Linked DNA regions of Homo sapiens: all the other regions are linked to region 2. Evidence: promoter capture Hi-C in 16 types of primary human blood cells and fetal thymus (Javierre and others, 2016). All regions are on one chromosome and are shown on one strand. The core of a region is centred on a gene start or on the middle of the fragment in contact, and the rest is flanking DNA. Distances in the headings are between cores, read along the strand shown.

Region 1 (3,305 bases), core at 757-3,256, 270 kb before region 2:
GATTAGATTCACCTCTGAACTCAGTTCCATCATGCTAGCATCTGTTAGCCAAGTAACCTAAGCTAGAGAGGCCTGGAGTCCTACCAATTCAGTGGATTAGAAGGGCAGAGAGGTGAAAGAATGTTCCCTTAATGCTTAGCACTTGACTGTAAGTGCACACTGCTGGCAGAATAGTCAGCAGTGGAAATGAGGGAGGAGCGAGGAGATGCGGCAGAACTAGCAGCGGGGCAGAGCTCCAGATCCCCAAGATGGTGGCATTATTTATGAGAAAGGACTCCTCTTGCAAAACTGTGCGTAGACGCATGGGTGTGGCTCTTCCCCCAAAGGACTGGCTTTCCTTTCCTTCCTTCTTGAAGGATTACAGAATAAATAGGAATTGGTACAAAATGTGGATGGATGGATGGATGGATGGATGGATGGATGGATGGATGGATGGATAGATGGGTGAGTGAGTGGATGGATAGATGGACAGATAGGTGGATGGATGAGAGGACATCTACACAGGGTGGTGAAAAGAGCATTGGCCTTGAATGGCAGAGCTACTCAGCTTCTTTGAGCCCAACTCTATCATCTGTAAAAAGGGGATGGTACACCCTGCCCCTCCATGGCTCCAAAGGCTATTAGAAAGCTCAAACTGAAAGCCAAGACACCTTTGTTTTGTTTGATATGGTTTGGTTTGGTTTGGTTTGGTTTTGTTAGAGACGGAGTCTCACTCTGTTACCCAGGCTGGAGTGCAGTAGCGCGATCTCAGCTGACTGCAACCTCTGCCTCCCAGGTTCAAGTGATTCTCCTGCCTCAGCTTCACAAGTAGCTGGGATTACAGGCATGCACTACCATGCCTGGCTAATTTTTTGTATTTTTAGTAGAGACAGGGTTTCACCATGTTGACCAGTCTAGTCTCGAACTCCTGACCTCAAGTGGTCTGCCCGCCTCGGCCTCCCAAAGTGCTGGGATTACAGGCATGAGCCACCACCACACCCAGCCCCAAAACACCTTTGTTCAGTCAAGGTGCTCTGCAGCTATAAGGAATTATTTTCTATGCAACCTCTTCCCTCCAAAGACTGCCTCTAATCCCCCATGCTGCAAATATATTATGATTAAAGTGCAAGAGTAAGTCAAAATCTTAGTAAACTCTATGATCACTTTGGCATTCCTCCAACAAACTCTGCATGGATTTTGTTCCTCCTCTCAGCTCCCAAGCAATTTTTCTTACATTGGAGGTTGCCAAGATTTTATGGCTATTTGGTTATCTTATCCATCCAGATGGTTAGCATTAATTTATGCTGAAGTAAATCTGCAAAACCTCATCTGTCTCATTGCTCCAGAAGCATTAGGTGTAAGGCCTAAAAAAATCTTAATATATAGCCTCCTGAGAGGGCTGAGGTGCGATGTTACTGCATGCTTTTTATTCAATTTGGCTTGAAATTCTGCTCTTCTATCCCTTGATATTTATATATAAGCAAATTAGGTTGTTTGGTATAAGAAACCTAAACTTATTTTATGACTTTTAATGCAGATGCTCATCTCAAGTTACACAGGTGCTTTTTATTGAGAAAAGTTATACCATGATTTATACCAATGATAAATTTTGAACACCTTTTCTCCATTTTTGAATATTCATCATTAAGACATAATGTATGGGTTGGCGACCAGGGATTCAAATACTCATTAAATGTGTGACCTCAGGCAAGTCTCTCAGCCTAGTTGAGCTCCATTTCCATCACCTAGATGAACACTTGCCTGTAGGACTACTGTGAGGATTATATGTTTAATGTATGTGGGGTGCTTGGCACATAATAGCACTTAATAAATGCTATTAGGGACTATTCTTGTTATGGTTGAGCCGGTGAAGAATTTTGTGTGAGAGATTGTGTCTGGACTTTCATTTGGAGCAAGTTAGGTCAAAATAACAGCTCCTGGCACTGCTGGTGCTGAACATGTGTTCTCTGCCTATTCCCTTGCTGAGACATGAATTATTAATATTTTATGCCATTTATTCCTGTGCTATTTGGGGACTTCTCTGGCAGACTCTGGTGTTTTCTGATGGTTCCAGAAATTCGTGCAAAACATTTCTATAGGCTGGGCACAGTGGCTTACACCAATAATCACAACACTTTAGGAGTTCAAAGTGGGAGGACCACTTGAGGCCAGGAGTTTGAGACCAGCCTAGGCAGCCTTAGTGAGACCCTCATCTCTACGAAAACATTTTTAAAAAATTAGCTGGGCATGGTGGTGCATACCCGTAGTCCTAGCTACTCAGAAGCCTGAGGCAGGAGAATCGCTGGAGCCCGAGTTTGGAGGCTATAGTGAACTATGGTCCCACCACTGCACTTCAACGTGATCACAAAGGGAGAACTCACCTCTTAAAAAAAAAAAAAAAAAGACAACATAGTGATTCATAGGGTTGACCTGACTTTTCCTAGGAGTCTAATGGACAGCTGCTTAGCCGCTGATCCAGCGCTTGGCTGACTGATTCCAGGTGCCAGAATGTGGGACAGCTGTGCTCTGAGAGAGAGTCCTCTGCTCACTCAGGTGCAGAAGACAGTAAAGACTAGAAAGTTGGTTGATGATTGCTGGAATAAAGGATGAGAAACTTGAATCTGGTACTAGGCCCACACAAATTCAGTTACTATGTGTCACTTCCTGTTGGCTATTTATTTAAAATTGTAGGACTTCTGGACAAGATTTGCAACTGTGGCTGCTACTGTATCAAAAGTTACAAAGTAACTGCTAAGTAGAGCCTTTAGTTTGTTGTTGTTCTGGTTTATTTTATTTATTTGTTTTGTTTGTTTGGTTGGAGACGGAGTTTCATTCTTGTTGCCCAGGCTGGAGTGCAGTGGCGCGATCTCAGCTCACCGTAACCTCCGCCTCCCAGGCTCAAGCAATTCTCCTGCCTCAGCCTCCCAAGTAGCTGGGACTACAGGCACCCGCCACCACGCCTGGCTAATTTTTTTGTATTTAGCAGAAGCAGGGTTTCACCACGTTGGTCAGGCTGGTCTCAAACTCCTGACCTCAGGTGATCCACCCACCTCAGCCTCCCAAAGTGCTGGGATTACAGGTGTGAGCCACCACACCTGGCCATTCTTGTTTCTTTTTGTTTTGTTTTAAAATTGTATATTTTGGATCAGTTTGCATCTCTCTCTCTCTACAGGGATTGGTTTGAGCATTGTGCAGGTCCCAACTGCCAAGGCTCATGGTCCTTCTGTATAGATGCCACAAACCTACAGTTAACACAGCAACCTTTCTGGCCTTGCCAAGTGCTAAGAGTGGTTGCAATAGGGCCTAGGATTCAGAAGTTGCACTGG
Region 2 (3,303 bases), core at 95-2,594:
CATACACTGCTTAGTGGGAAAGTAAAATGGTACAGCTGCTTTGCTTGGCAGTTCCTCAAAAAGTGAAACACGGAGCAATTGCCCTCCTAGGTATATACCCAAGAGCACTGAAAACACATGTCCACAAAAACGTGTAAACAAATGTGCATAGCAGCATTACACACAATGGCCAAAAACTGGAAACAACCCAAATGTACATCAACTGATGAATAAACAAATGTGGTACACTGATACAACAATATTAATATGCTATAAAAAGTAAAGTACTGATACATACTACATGAGTGAAACTTGAAAACATTACAGTATGTCTTTCGACGCCAGACACAAAAAGCCACATATTGTACGCTTCCATTTATATGAGATTTCCACAACAGGCAAACCCATATAAACAGAAAGTAGATTAGTGGTGGCTAGTGGGGTGGGGTCAAGGGGAAATGAGGAGTGATTACTAAGAGAGACAGGGTTTCTTTTGGGGATGATGATCTGGATAGTGGTCATATTTGGAAAACTCTGTGAATATATTAAAAGCCACACTTTAGAAGAATGAGTTTTATGGCATGTGATGTATATCTCAATTTAAAAATTGTCACTACAAAAAAAAGATGACATATATACGTAATATACACATCAATGTATATCGGTAACACATAGATATGTGTCATCTCTCTCTGTAAATGAGCATTTGGGCTTTTAAATTTGAGATATGCTCCGTGTATATAAAGAGAAGAATGAAAGAAAAGGGTGACGGGGCACTCGCGGAGCCCTGAACAGGCATCTGGGGTGTGCCCGAGCCAGCCTCGCAGCATCTCCATCCCAGCTCACCTTCAGCCATCACTCATACACCACCCGCCGCCTGTCCCTGCCTTGGGCGCCCGGGACCGCTTGTCCGCGGTGGCCGCGGAACAGCTTCCCTCAGCCCGAGGTGGGGCAGGCGCGGGGGCCTGGGCTCGGGCGCTGCCCGGCGGCCCGGAGAGGCGTCCGCAGGGGGCACGGCTGCTCGGGCGGGGCCGCTCCCTCTGCTCCCCGCGCCCCCGCCGCCGGGTCCCGAGCCCAGGCCTCTCGGCCCCACCTCCCTCCCGCACCTGATGCGCCCGAACGCGGCGCCGCGGCCGAAGCCGAGACTTCCCCTCCATGGTCACCTGTTCCGGAGCGCGGCGGCGGCAGCGGCCGGTGTGAGAAGGGTCCCCGTCTCCTCAGACCAGACCGAGACACCAGGGGCGGGGGATGGAAGGGGCATTCACCTGGTGCCCGGCACCGGTGGTGGCGGGGAGGACAGCGGCTCCCAGCCCACAGCTCCTTCCTGCTCCCGCGCCTCCTCGCGCGGCTGCGGCCCCAAGCTGACAGCCCGGCCGTCGGCGCCCGCGGCCCCCTGACTCCCCGCCGCCCCGCCCCCGCGCGGCAGCCCCGCGCAAGCGCAGCCGCGCCGCCGCCGGGGAAGCCCGGGCCTTGGTGATGTGGCCCGCGGGGCGGCGACCCGGAGCGACAGCACCGCCCCGCCCGGACCCCGGCCGCGCCCTGGCAGACAGCTGTCGGGAACGGGGGCGCTGGATGACGGCAAGGGGGCAGTTTTCTGGGGAGCCTGCCCAGGAGAGAAGGGCTGTGGCCTCCTTCGGCATCCCTCTTCCCCACCAGCCCACGCACGCCCACTTCACCGCCTGCTCCAAGGTCCGAACCCCCGAATCCATGACTCATGATTTCTCTTCTCAGACCAGCGGCCTCTTTTTGGCTGAGGTCATGTTTCTTGCAGACTGGAGTTAAAACCGAACCACGTGTCTTTCGGCCCAGCAGCGCATAGTGTGGGCGGTGCAGGAGCCGAGACGGGCAGGAACCACCGCAGGAGGGGGTGAGGTTTAGGGCAGCCCCATAGCACCCTCCCCGTGCCAGGCAGGTGTAGGCGCCAAGCGCATGGGGCGCTGAAGAGTTGGCTGGGGTGCCAGGCTTTTCAAGTTTCCCCACACTTGCTTTTAAACCTAGATCAAACTGATCCAAAGTCTGCATGTAAATCCGAGAGCTCATTTATTTTATTTACAAAACTATTGAGCATCTACTGTGTATGATTCAGGGAATGAGACACACCCCAGGGATACTCCAGTGAACAAAAGAAAGGTGTTGGTCCGAAGACAGTTATTTTAAAAATTACACAGCTAATGCCATAATGCCAGGATTGGTGGCTCATGCGTGTAACCTCAACACTTCGGGAGGACCAGGCGAGAGGATCGCTTGAGGCCAGGAATTTGAGACCAGCCTGGGCAAACACAGCGAGACCTGGAGTGGCTAGGAGACTGAGGTGGGAGGATCGCCTGAGCCCAGGAGTTCAAGGCTGCAGCGGGCTATGATCGCATCACTGCACTCCAGTCTGGGCCACAAAATGAGACCTTGTCTCTAAAACAACAACTCAAAATTACACAGCTAATGATACTCTTTTCCTCAAATCAAAGCTTCTACCAATTCCAAGCCACACCAGTGATTTAGTAGCAGCTTTTCTGGTGCTGAAGGACACCAGCATACATTTATCCATGTTCTTTTTTTTTTTCCTTATGCTTTGCGATCAGACTTTGAGCTTTAACCTTAACCTTCAGGGTGAAGGGTGCTTCGGTATCACTCTTGGCCATCTGCAGTCATGCTTTTTATAATGACTCATCCTGGTGTTCCTCACCACCTAAAAATGAAAGTATAATTGCAAGGAATATGGAAAAGCAGTGTTTTGACTGCATTTCCAGCTGGTTTTTGTTCTGGTTGTTTTTTGAATTACAGATCATTAGAAAGTAGCTGCTCTTGAAAGTTTGGCAGAAGTTCCACCCAATATGTGTTCCTCCCCTGAGTGTGTAGTCTTTCAAGATTTCTACACAAAGCATATACAGAAGCCAGCCTGTCTTGGTTTTGAAAATTCTTCCACCATTTTTTTCTGAGAGAGCTGGTGGTTTCTACCGTCCTTCAGAGCATTACATGGCATGTGGCAGGCAACCTTCTACTTACATTCTTCATTCAGTACCGCAAAGTAGTGTGTACTTTGGAGATATGTTAAGCTTCAAGTTGGAATCCAAATTTAAATCAAATTTCAGCCCTGAAAATAACTCACATTGGAATCGGGCGAGGAAATGCCCCCTTGTAAAAAACTGGGTCCTAATGGGTGCAGACAACAACAATCCCATTTCTACTTCATCTCCCGTCTGACAGCTGGCAACTTCAAATGTGAAGCAAGTGGCTTGGACTTGAGGCTGTGTGGTGATGCTGTTGTGATTGCTGGAAAAAAGCCTGAGAGTTATGAGAGTGTATAACAAAGGAGCGTGTCTGTGCTAG
Region 3 (3,135 bases), core at 605-3,104, 290 kb before region 2:
TGGATGCAAGCGAGAATGGAGAAATTTAATAAAGATTTTTATTTGTTTTCCAAAATGCAATACAGAAGATTGGGGTTATTGTGAAACGTGGGCAGGCTTTTGTAGTCCCCTTTACCTTGAATTCTGCTTTGCCAAAGCAAGATTTTATTAAGATAGGACTATCCAATTTCCTTCCGTTGTTCTTGGGACTCTGTGTTTTTGCAACTCGTTTGCCTCTGTCTGCGTGTTGAATTCTAGAGGGTGCGATGATGGAAGAATAAAATGGGATGGAATAATACCAGTGTCCTGCTGCATTGGTATTCAAATTCAGTATCCAAGGCTCCACATGCCTGAAATACAGATTTACTCTGAAATACAGTGGATGGCCAACAAATGTTTCCTGATTGAAAAAAGATGGAAGGAAAGGGAAGGGAGAGAAGGAGAAGCTAGGGAAGTCCTGTGTGGAACAGTAGAGCTGGGATCAGGTACCTCATCAGAGAGGCGGGGCAAGGTCTGATAACCCCTTTTTTCACCGTTCTACAGTACCGTGTGCGGTGGGGTCTGGAGTGAGCCAGAACAGATAAGTCGTTGCCCCTTGCCATCCCCCAAAACTATGCCCAGGGTAGCTGGCCAGGACTCTGTCTGCATCACACTCCTGCCAGTGTATGGCATGGGGCCTGGCAAATAGGAGGTACCTTTAAAACGCTTGTTGAGCAGAACATTCCAGTTGACCTGATAGTTCTTCATGAACATAGTCATTCATTTTCATTGACAGAACTTATGTTAAATGATACGAAGTTATTTTGAGAGGTAAGTGACCCTGACCCTGTCCACAAGAATTATTCAGTTCCGTGAATTTGGTCCAGCAGAGTCTGGTTTTTAACAGTCATTTGGCCTGAGCTATTGACTGCAAACTTTTAAGATTCTTCCAGGCCGTCTCATTAGAAGTTGACAGCACTTTGGCACCACGGAGACCTACAGGTGTCCTTATTCCCCCACCACGCTTCTGGTAATGAGAAATGAAAGTCGTCCAGCCTCACTCAGCTCACTGTGTGTTCCAGATTACACACCAAGGTTGTGCAATCTAGCCTTGGTTTTGCTAGATACTGATCCGGCTCCAGATAAATGTCATTGGATGACAACATATATGTTCCTTAAAACTCCAGCTTTTGGAGTTTCATCCCAGTCCTTACCTTGCATCTCAATCAGGGACAGAATTTTGGCCGTCATTTGGGAAGGAGCCAAGTGGACACAGGATGGTTTTAGACGAGTGGTCCTAACTTTTTCATCTGCATTTCCATCCAGTGTTGGAGCTAGGACTTCCGCATGCATCCAGACTCTGCTTTCTGCTCATTTCATGACCTTAGGGGAGCTATGAATTCCTCTGGGCCTCAGTTTCCTCATCGGTAAAGCAAGCAAGTCATGGACCTACCTCAGGCTGGTTGTGAGGATGGAATGAGATGCTGCCTGTCAGCTTCTTAGCACCACCTAAGGTCTCTGGTGATGCTGGTTATTGCAGCTGCACATCCAAAGCACCTGGCGAGCTTTCAAACACCTTAGACACCCAGACCCACGGAATCAGAATCTCTAGGGGTATGCACCCATGAGTTCATGGTTTTTAAAATCCTCAGAGATGATTTGTGTGCCTAGTCAGGATTGAAACCACTAATTCTAAAGGAACTGGATTCATGGGGTTTTGTCTTTAGGAGGGAGTCTAGCCAGTAGAGCCAACCCACAGAAGCTGGAGTAAGAATACTTGGGTTCCAATCCCGGTACCACCCCTGGCTTACCCCCACACCATATACCCTGGCTGTGTGACCTTGAGCTAACGACTTAACTTCCCTGGAAGTCAGTTTACACAATAAGAAAGTGAGGACAGTATTTATGAGCACCCCTCATAGGGTCATATAGGGACTAAATGAGATTATCCATGCCAAGTCTTATATTAAAAAGTGCCTGCCACAAAGGAAGCCCCCAGGAAGCGGTGAGCACATGATACATGTTAACTCACTCTCCAGAACAACCCTGGGTAGTAGATTATGTCATTATCCAGTTTCCGTATGTGGAGCATCTCTGTAACTCCTCTAAGGTCACGGGTGTTAAACCCACTCCCGAGACACCATGACAACACAGAACACACTGCGTTGGGACGTCAGCTGGGTCAGCTGAAGGACTTGTGAGTGCAGCTCCCTGAGCTGCAGCTGACCACACAAGTGGGCAACTGAATACAGTCCCCATAAAGCATGTTTATCTTATCTGGGGCTGGAGATTAGCTGTGTTGTGCAGAAGGGAAGAGGCATTCCAGGTCTTTCCAGCTGTCTTGCCTGTGAACATTTATCGTCCCCTAGTTCCGACGTTTATTATCCCCCCGGGTGGATAGCACTAATTCATACCAGTCTGTCCGATGGCAGCAACCCCCATAGATGTATGGGTCATGGCGGAAGAGGGAGAAACCCCAGACTCTTGCTATTTGGAGGGAATGAGATTCTGATAGTCACAGCCCTCAGCAAACTGTTCTCTTTGGAACCAATACAGTTGTTTTCCTGTAAGAACACAGAGAAGACCCAGGCAACTCTGGGTTCCAGAAATGAAGGCCTCCTTGAGAAGCCACATTAACCCTGACATTTCTTTCTCCCCATTTCTGTGGGCAAGGAACACGGCCCCCAGGCAACTCTGGGTTCCAGAAATGAAGGCCTCCTTGAGAAGCCACATTAGCCCTGACATTTCTTTCTCCCCATTTCTGTGGGCAAGGAACACGGCCCCCAGGCACTGAGGAAGTCCCCACTGCAGCGTGCGTTAGACGTACGCACCCCTCTGCAAGCACAGGCTCGCACAATCGCCCGCTGTGTCTCCTGCCAGCCAGCTGGGTGAATGTTCCCGGGCAGCCAGAGCGTTTTTCCTCCCCTCCTCACACTCCCCTCCCCTTCTCCTGCCCCGCCAGCTCCACGCCCTCCTGAATGTTCCATTCTAAACAGCCACAATCAGGAGCCTGTTCTGCACTGGGAAAAAGAGCAGCATGAAGGCTTTTAAACTTGCTGGGTAATTTAAGGTATTTATCGCTATTTGGAGAGCTTTGCTTGTTTTGAATCCATTCCCCCTGCAGCTCTCAGAAATGGTGCAAATGATTTTTTTTCCCCCTTGAAAAGGGATGCTTCT

The links. Contacts are between HindIII fragments. The CHiCAGO score rates a contact against its expected background, and 5 or more counts as called.
Region 1: a fragment that was not itself captured here is called in contact with the fragment with the promoter of SLC41A2 in region 2 in 4 of 17 cell types (naive CD8 T cells, naive B cells, total B cells and 1 more); the score reaches 6.9 in naive CD8 T cells.
Region 3: a fragment that was not itself captured here is called in contact with the fragment with the promoter of SLC41A2 in region 2 in 2 of 17 cell types (naive B cells and total B cells); the score reaches 5.7 in naive B cells.

What each region holds. Positions count from the first base shown.
Region 1 is chr12:104,683,868-104,687,172 of GRCh38, forward strand. The region is part of intron 2 of CHST11 (carbohydrate sulfotransferase 11); the gene reads left to right. Among named protein-coding and RNA genes, the nearest start is that of MIR3922, 94 kb to the left of the region's middle. The HindIII fragment of the contact is 6,908 bases long and covers 1-3,305 here.
Region 2 is chr12:104,956,946-104,960,248 of GRCh38, forward strand. It overlaps SLC41A2 (solute carrier family 41 member 2), which reads right to left and starts at 1,345. Exons shown (of 11, transcript NM_001352171.3): 1 at 1,143-1,345. RefSeq lists silencers at 734-1,063, 1,254-1,523. The HindIII fragment of the contact is 5,296 bases long and covers 1-2,439 here.
Region 3 is chr12:104,666,317-104,669,451 of GRCh38, forward strand. All of the region lies in intron 2 of CHST11 (carbohydrate sulfotransferase 11), which reads left to right. Among named protein-coding and RNA genes, the nearest start is that of MIR3922, 76 kb to the left of the region's middle. The HindIII fragment of the contact is 3,754 bases long and covers 1-3,135 here.